Linked DNA regions of Homo sapiens: region 1 is linked to region 2. The links are contacts of gene promoters, found by promoter capture Hi-C in human tissues and cell types (Jung and others, 2019). All regions are on one chromosome and are shown on one strand. Each heading gives the region's core, a stretch centred on a gene start or on the middle of the fragment in contact. The rest is flanking DNA. Distances are from core to core; before and after follow the strand shown. Region 1 has its middle 24 kb from the start of ZNF577. Region 2 holds the start of HAS1 (hyaluronan synthase 1).

Region 1 (5,403 bases), core at 326-2,825, 140 kb after region 2:
GATATTCAAAGAGTTTTGACTTTCAGATTTTAATTTTTACCTGCAATGAGGTGTGATTCTTCTTAGCTTTCCTGCATTCCCTCCATCTGTAGGGTCCTTCTCCTGAATGAATACCCTAATGTGTAACAAATATAATTTGAGAATGATTTATCATTTTCATTACATCCACTGGTGCTGCCTACTAAATGGAAAGCTTCTAGTTTTCTAATAAACTTTTTTGACAATCACTGCACTCATAATTGACTCTCTCTTTTTTTTTTTTTTTTTTTTTTTGAGACAGAGTCTCACTCTGTCACCCAGGCTGGAGTACACTGGTGCAATCTCGGCTTACTGCAACCTCCACCTCCTAGGTTCAAGAGATTCTCCTGCCTCAGCCTCCTGAGTAGTTAGGATTACAGGTGTGCACACCACACCTGGCTATTTGTTTTTTTTTTTTTTTGTATTTTTAGTAGAGACAGGGTTTCATCATGTTGGCCAGGCTGGTCTCGAACTCCCAACCTCAAGTGATCTGCCTGCTTCAGCCTCCCAAAGTGCTGAGATAACAGGCATGGGCCAATGCGCCTGGCCAATGATTCTTCTTGTGAGATCTCTACGGTAAACGAGGGATATCTTCAAAAAAGAAGGCTTAAAATATTCATTGCATCTATAAGGTTTCTCTCCCACAAGAGTTCCAAAAGGGCCCATTACAATCATAGTATTCATGGAACTTCTATTGTGTCTGAGCTGATGTGACTAATCAAAAAAGCTCTCTCATATTCCAAGTCACTGCATGGACTTTCTTCCTTCCTGCTGGGGTTTCTGATGATTAGTAATAGCTGATTTCTGAGTAAAGCTTTTTGACATTCACTGCATCTATAGGGCCTCTTTCCTGTGTGAGTTCTCTGGTGACCAATGAGAGTTTACAAAGTAGCGAATGCTTTCTTACAATCACTGCATTTATATGGTTTCTCTCCTGTATGAATTCTCTAATGTACAGTGAGACAGGATTTAACTATGATGGCTTTATTACACATGCTACATTTGAGGAGTTTCTCACCTGTATAGGTTCTCTGTTATATAATGAGAGTTGACTTACAGGACAAAACCTTCCCACATCCACTGTATCCATAAGATTTCATTCTTGCATGGCAAGTTTTTCGATGCTTACTGAGACCTGTCTTTTGGGTGAAAGCTTGTTGACCTTCATTGCATCATAGGGTCTCTCTCCTGTGTGAATTGGCTGATGAGTCATGAGATATACCTTACTGGAGAAGGCCCTATCACAGTCTGAGCATTCATATGATTTATTTCCTATATGAGTTCTCTGATATACAATGAGATTTCCCTTTGATGTGAAGGCTTTATCACATACATTGCATTTGAAGGGTTTCTCACCTGTATGGGTTCTCTGATGTATAACAAAGTTTTTTTTGGAGGATAAAACCTTCCCACATTCACTGCATTCATGGGATTTCCTTACTGCATGATGAGTTTTCTTATGATTGTTGAGATCCAACTTCCAGATGAAAGCTTCTTGACATTCACTGCATCCATAGGGTCTTTCTTCTGTATGAATTCACTGATGCTTCATAAGCTGAGCCTTTTTCAAGAAGGCTTTCTCATAATCCAAGCAAGCATATGGTTTCTCTCCTGTGTGAGTTCTCTGATGTATAGTTAGCTGTGTTCTAACCATGAAGGCTTTATGATAGACTTTGCACCTGAAAGGTCTCTCTCCTGAATGAGTTCTGAGATGCAAAATGAGGTTCGACTTCCAAGGAAAAGCTTTCCCACATTTACTGCATCCATAGAATTTTCCTTTTCTATGAAGAACTTTCTGAGGATAACTGAGCTCAGATCTGGTCTTCAAAGCTGTTTGACATTGAATGCATTAATAGGGTATCTCTCCTGTGTGAATTCACTGATGAATCATGAATAAAGCCTTTTTTGAGAAGGCTTTTTCACAATCTGAGCAAGCATATGGTTTCTCTCCTGTGTGAGCTCTCTGATGTACAGTGAGATGTGTCCTAACCACAAAGCCTTTATCACATACTTTGCAAATGAACGGTCTCTCTCCTGAATGATTTCTTTGACATAAAATGAGTTCTGACTTCCAAGGGAAAACTTCTCCACATTTGCTGCATGTACAGACTTTCCCTTCTCTATGATGAGTTTTCTGATGATACACAAGCCCTGAATTTGTAATGAAGGCTTTTTGACATTGATTGCATCAGTAGGGTCTCACTCCTGTTTGAGTTTGCTGATGAGCAATGAGCTTTAACTCACTGGGAAGGGCTCTCCTAAAATCATGAGATTCCTGGGATTTGTTTCCTGCATGAGTTCTCTGAGGCATGGTCATGAGTAGTTTACAAGTATTCACTGCACATTCACTGCATCCATATGATTTCTTTCCAAAAAGAATTGGTTATAATTAGCAAGCTCTGACTTCTGGATGTTATGAAAGCTAGTGTACGCACAACAGAGTAAGTGAGATAACAAGAAGAGGTCCAGAAAAAGGCTTCTTTTCCCATTTACCATAAAAAGATATTAGTAAGATGGTTAAATTTGAGTAAGCTCTGTATTTTAAATAATAATACTATATCAATGTCAATATTCTGATTTTGATCACAGTATTCTGATTATGCAAAAGAATGCTCTTCTTCCTATGAAATACACACTTGGGTTTTAGGGTAGAGTTCAGAAAAACCATATGTACCTGTGTGTGGTGTGTGTGTATAGATAAAATAAAGCAAATTGGTAAAATCATATTTTGGGGAAATTTGCAAAAAGAATGTGCAAGAATTTTGTGTATCATTTTGGAACATCTCATTAAATCTAGACCATTTGGAGACAAGCATTTTCAAAAGGAGAAAATAAAAATAAAGATATTGATGAAAACATACATAGGGACACTAAGTATAATGGCCTGAATGTAAAAGAGATAAACAGTGTAATATTCACCCAATGCCATTCTGCACAGGACTCAGATTCTTGATCTAGGTGCTGGTTGCACAGTGTGCTGACTAGAAAGTTACCTAGCTGTATAATTACATTATATGTATGTTATACCAAAACATTTTTCATTAATAAGTAAACAAAAACGTTTAGGCCGAAATCAGGGAATGCTCCCTTGTAGGAGGATCCTGAAAAGAATTTGGATCTTGTGCTAACAGTAACAGGATGCCATTACCAATGATAGTGGGAGCAGGATGACATGTCCTGATTTCCAATTTAAAAGCAACATCCTGTGTGTATGTTTATCAGTAATTAACACTGACCATGTCTTAAATATTATGGCATGAATATTTTTAGGCTTGCACCCTGTGAATGAGTACAGATTTGCTACATCATATAGCATTTTTTAGACCATAATTTAGATCTTTCCATCCTCCAACTAAGATTTACCTTTTTATATGAAGCTTTAATTACTTTCCGCAACACTTTTGTCAAAATCTGAAGTCTTTTAAGAACCAAGATGTTTCTGATGTTTATTTTAATGTTCAGGGATTTTGGAGGTGAGGGGCTAGAAACACTGACTCCTGCCCCTGACTCCCGCCCCTGACTCCCGCATTTATTTTCATAAATGAAAATAGTAAAATAAATTCATTAAGGGTATTATGTGGAGAATAGAAACAAGAGTAAAGGACTGAGAGTATATTAGAGAAAACTATCATAATTTTGGCAAGAGATAATGGACATCGAAGCTTGAGTGAAAATAACTGTTAGAGAAAGGAGTAGAGGACCTCGAGATATAAGGAGAAAGTAAAGTCTAAACTTGCTAAATGGACTGGATTTGTGGGATGAGTGAAACGGTGAAGCAAGGATGACTTGAAGTTTGAGTTAGCTATTAGATCTCCAAGCAATTCCCAGGCAAATGTAGGAGGATAAGGAAATATCTAGCCTGTAGAGAGAAATCTGTGAGTCATCAACATATAAATAGCATTGTTAAGTCCATGAAATCGAAGAGGTCACACTGGGAACAAAGAAAAGAAATTACCAATGATGAAGCACCCTTACGCCCTCCAACTCTGAAGGCTTTGGGAGAAGGAGATGCCCAGAGAATGGAAAAAGTCCATCCATCACGCTCAAACAATAAGTACCCAGAAAAGAGGCCAACTTAAGTCTTAGGAACCAACATCTGTGGGAAGCAAGATAAAATGAAGTCTTCTCAGCTCTTCACATAAATGTAAGTGCTGTCACTCTGTTTCAGATTCATTCTTCTTTAATTCTGCATGCAACAGTCAATGAACTTTCCCAAAGATTTTTTTTTTCTTGAGACGGAGTTTCGCTCTTGTCACCCAGGCTGGAGTGCAATGGCGCAATCTCAGCTCACTGCAACCTTCGCCTCTAGGGTTCAAGTGATTCTCCAACCGCACCTCTGGAGTAGCTGGGATTACAGGGCACTCGCCACCATGCCCAGCTAATTTTTGTATTTTTAGTAGAGACAGGGTTTCGCCATGTTGGCCAGGCTGGTCTTGAACTTCTGACCTCAGGTGATCCACCCACCTCGGCCTCCCAAAGTGCTGGGATTACACACGTGAGCCACCATGCCCGCGCCTTCCCAAAGATTTCTAACACCATATATACAGGAACACCACTGTGGTGAGCACTCCCACCTTCTAGGTTGCTTTGATACATTCTCATATGATTCACTCAGGTCTGTAGGAAATACAAAAATCAGGCCAAATATCCTTACCCCAGGATAAAAGGCAGTGCTGTGATGATGTGTCGATTGTGAGAATCTAAGTCAATATAAAGAGAGAAAAAGGCACATTTTCTTTGAAACGCCAAACAAAAGAGAGCCTCATCAATGATCTAGGTATCTGTAGTCACCTTCCAAGTCTTTGCCCTGTTAAACACATTTGGAAGGGGTCCAACCCTCATGGTCAGCTCCTTTACTTTCCAGGTCTCCCATCTTGTTGGTTCTCACTCACCTGAAATGCACTGACCTCACATTTTATCCTCTATTCTCCATGTTTGAAATTAAATATCACTGGCTGGGTGCGGTGGCTCACACTTGTAATCCCAGCACTTTGGGAGGCTGAGGCGGGCAGATCATGAGGTCAGGAGATTGGGACCATCCTGACCAACATGGTAAAACCCCAGCTCTACTAAAAATACAAAACTTAGCTGGGTGTGGTGGCACACGCATGTAATCCCAGCTACTCAGAAGGCTGAGGCAGGAGAATTGCTTGAACTCGGGAGGCAGAGATTGCAGTGAGCTGAGATGGCGCCACTGCACTCCAGCCTGGCGACAGAGCAAGACTCCATCTAAAAAAAAAAAAAAATTAAAGATATCTGGTTTGGTAGCTTAAGAGCCTGTTTATGGGAAATGACAAAGACTTGAACACTTATAATTGGGCTTGATGGGAGGTGTCTATGAACAGCACAGAAATGTTTCTGGAACTGACACACTTTCAGCTCGGC
Region 2 (5,462 bases), core at 2,204-4,703:
GCTGGGGTGCAGTGGCACCATCATAGCTCACTGCAGCTTCTAACTCCTAGGCTCTGGCGATTCTCTCACCTCAGTCTCCCAAGAAGCTAGGACCACAAGGCTGGAGTCACTATGCCTTGCTAATTAAAAAAAAAACAATTAGAGGAGGGGTCTCACTATGTCTCCTAGGCTCCAGTCTCCCAAAGTGCTATGAATACAGGCATGAGCCACCAAGCCCAGCCTGATTTTGTTTCTTCCAATACAACTTTTTTCCACGTTTTGAAATCTCTTAAATCCGTGAGGATGATTGCATGCGATGGAGTGTCACAATTTAATTACTAGGGCGTTTCCCTCCTCTTTCTTAGTGGCACATACAATGAGGATTTATCTCCCAATCAAAGGTTTCTTAGGGTTGAGACAGTAATAATAATAACACATACTAAAAAACCAAAATGCTGTGTACCAGTCCCTGCTCTAAGCCTTTAAGATGAATGAATTTATTTTAATCTTTACAACAGCGCTGTAAGGTAGGTACTGTTATTATTATCCCCGTTGTACAGATGAGGCAACTGAGTCACACAGAGGTTCAGCAATTTGCCCAAGGTTGTCCCTGGAAAGCAGAGGAACCTGGATTTGAACCCTAGGAACTGAATCTCTAAACCTCTAGCCCTCGGGAGAGCCCTGGGGGACAGATAGTGCTCTGCCACCATACAGGTGGCCAAACTGAGGACTGATTGGCCAGAAGGAGTGGCTTGCACAAGATCAGCAGCCCATGGTAGAGGACTCTTCTCTCTGACTTTCCAGAGGCATAGCCTGGTTCTCCTTTTCCACTGCCCAACTCCCCAGCAGAGCCAGGTGCCCCAGTAAATGTTGCTGGAAGAGCCCAGAATCAGAGGAAAAAGTACTTTCTGTGTGCCAGACACTACTGTACAACAACCTTAATATATATATATAAATTTTTTTTTAAATTGAGACAGGGAGCCAGAAACTGTGGCTCACGCCTGTAATCCCAGCACTTTGGGAGGCGGAGGCGGGTGGATCACCTGAGGTCAGGAGTTCGAGATTAGCCTGGCTAACATGGCGAAAGCAAAATACAAAAATTAGCCAGGCTTGGTGGCGCACGACTGTAGTCTCAGCTCCTCAGAAGGCTAAGGCAGGAGAACTGCTTGAACCCCTGAGGTGGAGGTTGCAGTGAGCCAAGATGGCACCACTACACTTCAGCCTGGGTGACAGTGCGAGACTCCATCTCGAAATAATAATAATAATAATAGAGACAGGGTCTTGCTGTGTTTCTCAAGTTGGTCTCGAACTCCCAGGCTCTAGCGATCCTCCTGCCTTGGCCCCCTAAAGTGCTGGGATTATAGGCGTGAGCTACTGCACCCGGTCTCTACAACAATCTTATAAGGCAGGTACCTTCACTGTCTTCTGTTACAGATGAGGAAACTGAGACACTGAGAGGCAAATACTTTTACCCAAGGTCACTCAGGTAATAAGCAGAGTCAGAAGTAAAACTCAGGCAGTCTGGCTCTGGCGTCCCCTCTACGCTAAACTGCCTCCTATGCCACCAGTTCCTGCCTCAAGGCTTACTGTGGGTTATTTAAATGCGTCGTTAAGATGTAGATCTTTGTGTCCAACACAGGTGTCAGCAGCCACATGTGTCTACCGAGTACTTGAAATGCAGCCAGTATCACCGAGGAACTGAGTTTTAAATTTTATTTAATTTTAATTCATTTAAATTTAAAAACTCTTACTTGATTCGGTTATTGGAAAGATTTTAAATATGTCTGGAACAAGTTGCATCTACGATGCCCCTTTTATAATTGTAAATCTTATAAAATCTAAACACAGATTAGGTATTTCCAGTGAAAAGGTAGCATCTAAGTGAGAAGTGCTATGAACACACTGGATTTTGAAGGCCAAGTCTGGGGAAAAGAAAGTAAAATAGCTCATTAACATTTATGTATTGATTACATATTGAAATGATCATATCTTATATGTAGCAGGGGTCGGCATGCTAAGACCTGCTGCAGCCTGCAGGCTAAGAATTTGTGTGTGTGTTTTTAGATGGTTTTTGAAAGCCAAAAGAAGAATAATAGTTTGTGGAGCATGAAAAATATGAAATTCAAATTTCAGTGTCCTTAAAGGAAGTTTTATTTGCATACAACCACATTCATTTGTTTATACATCATCTGTGGCTGATTCTACATTTACCACATCGAAGTTGAGTACTTTCAAAAGAGACCAGATGGCCCCCAAAAGCCTCAAATATTTAATATTGGGCCCTTTATTTAAAAAAATGTGCTGGCCCCTGACACACTGGGTTAAATAAAAATATATTATTAAAATTAATTTCACCTGTTTGTTTTTACTTTTTCAAATGTGGCCACAAGAAAATTTTAAATTAGATATTGTGGTTTTCGTTACATTTCTAGAGGACAAAACTGAGGTACAGCTTTTAAACTCTCAACATTAAACATTATTCTTTCTTCTCGAATCCCCCTTCTCTCTTCCTTTGCTTCAAACCTGGCCTTGCCTGAGTTCCTAGGGATGGCTCAATTCATGCTGGGGATCCAGAGAGTTGATTCCAGAAACACAGATGAACACACGTGTAGACACACTCCCCCACACGTGAACTCACACATGATGAGTGACACACAGAATGAAATTACTCGTGTTCTACAGGATGACCCGAGACACCCACTCAGGCCAAACACAGCGATCCCGTGACCCCCACCGACGGCCACACAGGTGAACCTGCAGACACACACCCCTCAGCAGGAAAAAGCAACACCAGCAAAGGATGTCCACGTGGCCACAAACACACAGAGCCCCAACTGAGAGTCTGGGGCAATGGGATGCACAGGGAAGATTTCAAGAGAAATAGTAGGTGACTGTCAAGCTGATACTGAACCAGATGAAATTGCTATTCTTCCAAGTTTAGAGTGGCTCAGTATCGGCGATTTCATTTGGTTCAACTTAATAGCTATTGAACGCATGAAACAGAAATCCATTCCCATGTGCCACAGGCAAATCCAACTCTCTTTCTCACTCAGTCTCTTTCATTCGCTCACTGTCGCACTCCCTCTTTCTCTCTGCCTCCCAGGGAACATAGACATACACAAGTTTGTAGCAAGATACGCAGATACAGAAATACGGACATGGCACGTCTCACCTACATGTACTTGGGATGGCCGCTCACACAGGGCAATGTATACACAGACCTGCACACTCAGCCTCACATGCTCACTGTCCCCTACACACATATGGTCACTGTCAGGCACATGGATACACACATGAAATCATGCACACACAGTTCCCCAACACACGTGGTCACACATATGGCAGTAGTTTTCCCCACATGGCTGTATACACACACACACACACACACACACACACACACACACACACCTGTCTCATCGCAGTGGGTCTGGCCGGGCTCTCTCTTCTCTCCGGCTTGCTCTCCCAGCCTCTCTGTGGCCAGAGAGCTGGAGGGGGGTCATTTGAAGACCAGCGCAGGCGGGGGCGGGAGCGAGCGCTGACGTCAGTCAGGCTAAGCTGGGCCAGGGGCTCTGAGGTCACGGCCCAGCCGGGCAGCTCCACCCGCTTCCCGCTATTACTCCCACCCCCCTCAGCCAGACGGGCCTCCCTTCCCAGGCCCCCATGTCTACCCGCGCCCCTCCTCTAGTCCTCTCTGCCATCACTCCCCCTCCTCTCCCTCCCTCCTCTATGTCTTCTTCTCTCTTCCTCCCCCCTCTCGTCCCTTGTCTCCCCTGATTTTTCTCTTCCACCTCACTTGCATTTTGGGGGTTCCCCTCATCCCCCCATCCCCTATCCCTGTATTTCCCTCCATCCCTTTCTTTCTCCCTAACCCACTATTTCTCCTCATCTCTTTGTTGGTACCCTCATCTCTCTCCCCATTACCACATTTCTCCAAGTTTCTGTCTTTCTCTCCATCCCTTTCTTCCTCTCCACTTCTCTTGCCTCCTCTCACCCTCATTTCTTTCTCTTCTTGCTTTAAAGCTCTCCCCACCTCCCCCTTCTCACCTTCCCCAGTCACCCCCGCCCTGCTTCTCCCCACAGCCGCCTCTCCTGTCCCCAGAATCCATCTCTGGGTTGGGCCCCCCAGGGACATGTCTCAGCAACTGGCAGATGGAACGAAACTCACACACGTGCGTGCTGTGGGTGTGCCTGTGTGTACGCTGGCCCGAGGCACGGCTGCCTGGAACCGGAGCTGTGAGTGAACATCTGTCCATTCAGCGCCTAACTGACGTGGGTCTGCGTGTGTGCACCAGGGTCTGGGGTGGAGAGCTGGGGCGCTGGGATTTGTATCCCCAGGGACTCAGGGATGAACACAGAGAGTTGTCGGTCAGCTGACCCTGGGGAGCCAGCCGGGGTCTGTCAGTGCTGTCACCCATCAGGGAAACTGAGTCAGAGGAAGGGTGAAAAGAGATGCGGGACCTGGGGTGCCCGAACCCCAGCCCCTCAGGACCAGATCTGTGATAAATGTCTGTTTACATGCCCTTCTTTCCATGAATTTTTTAAAAAAACTATCTGTATCTAATTCTGTTCTTCTCTCTGCTCCTCTTACTGTGAACTATTGATGTCTCACTTTCGGCCTTGGTAGCTGCCTCGGTAGCTGCCTCGTTCTTTTCTCCCTGCCTGTGACTCCAACGACCTTTGGTGTCTGGCACGGGCCAGCTCCAGGACAGGCTGAAAGACATGGAGCAGCAGAGAGAAATTCCCCCGTGCTTCTCTCTCCTCGTCTGTCCCTCCCCAAATCTCTGTCATTTTGTATCTGTCACCCCATCTCTGTTTCTCGGTCCCTCTATTTGGGTCTCTGCCTCTGTGTATTCCTGTCTGTTTCTCCTCCTCATCCCCCCTCACAGCCATTCTCTCTCTGCTTTTACCTGGGAGTGTCTGTCCCTTTGCATTTCTGAAGTCTCCCTGACTTTCTTCTTGTGTGGCTCTCTTTCTTTCTGAGTGCCTCTCCCTGACTTTCTCACTGTGTGTCCATGTGTGTGTGTCTCTTTCTCTCTGTCTCTTTTTCCCTCTATCTCCCTCCCTCTCTAGCTCTGTCTCTATCCTCCTTCCGTCTCTCTGCATCCCCATCTCTCTCTTTTTTTTTTTTTTTTTTTGAGACGGAGTCTCACTCTCTCACCTAGGCTGGAGTGCAGTGGCGTGAGCTCGGCTCACTGCAACCTCCGCCTCCCGGGTTCAAGCGATTCTCCTGCCTTAGCCTCCCGAGTAGCTGGAACTACAAGCGCCCACCACCACACCTGGCTAATTTTTTGTATTTTTAGTAGAGATGGGGTTTCACTATGTAGGCCAGGCTGGTCTCCAACTCCTGACCTCAAGTGATCCATCTGCCTTGGCCTTCCAAAGTGTTGGGATTACAGGCGTGAGCCACCGCACCTATCTCTTTGTAAGGCTCTATCTCTGTATGTGTTTCTCTGTCTCTGTCTCTCTCATTCAGTTTCTCTCCA

What was found. The method cuts DNA at HindIII sites, captures the fragments that hold promoters and counts their contacts. A contact is called where the count stands out against the background at its distance.
Region 1: a fragment that was not itself captured here is called in contact with the fragment with the promoter of HAS1 in region 2 in 2 of the 25 tissues and cell types used here (lymphoblastoid cells and mesenchymal stem cells).

The regions. Positions count from the first base shown.
Region 1 is chr19:51,860,864-51,866,266 of GRCh38, forward strand. It overlaps a transcript of ZNF577 not described here and the pseudogene LOC100419706. Among named protein-coding and RNA genes, the nearest start is that of ZNF577, 24 kb to the right of the region's middle. The HindIII fragment of the contact is 3,923 bases long and covers 1-3,537 here.
Region 2 is chr19:51,720,538-51,725,999 of GRCh38, forward strand. It overlaps HAS1 (hyaluronan synthase 1), which reads right to left and starts at 3,454. Exons shown (of 5, transcript NM_001297436.2): 1 at 3,388-3,454. The coding sequence starts at 3,396. The HindIII fragment of the contact is 37,877 bases long and covers 1-5,462 here.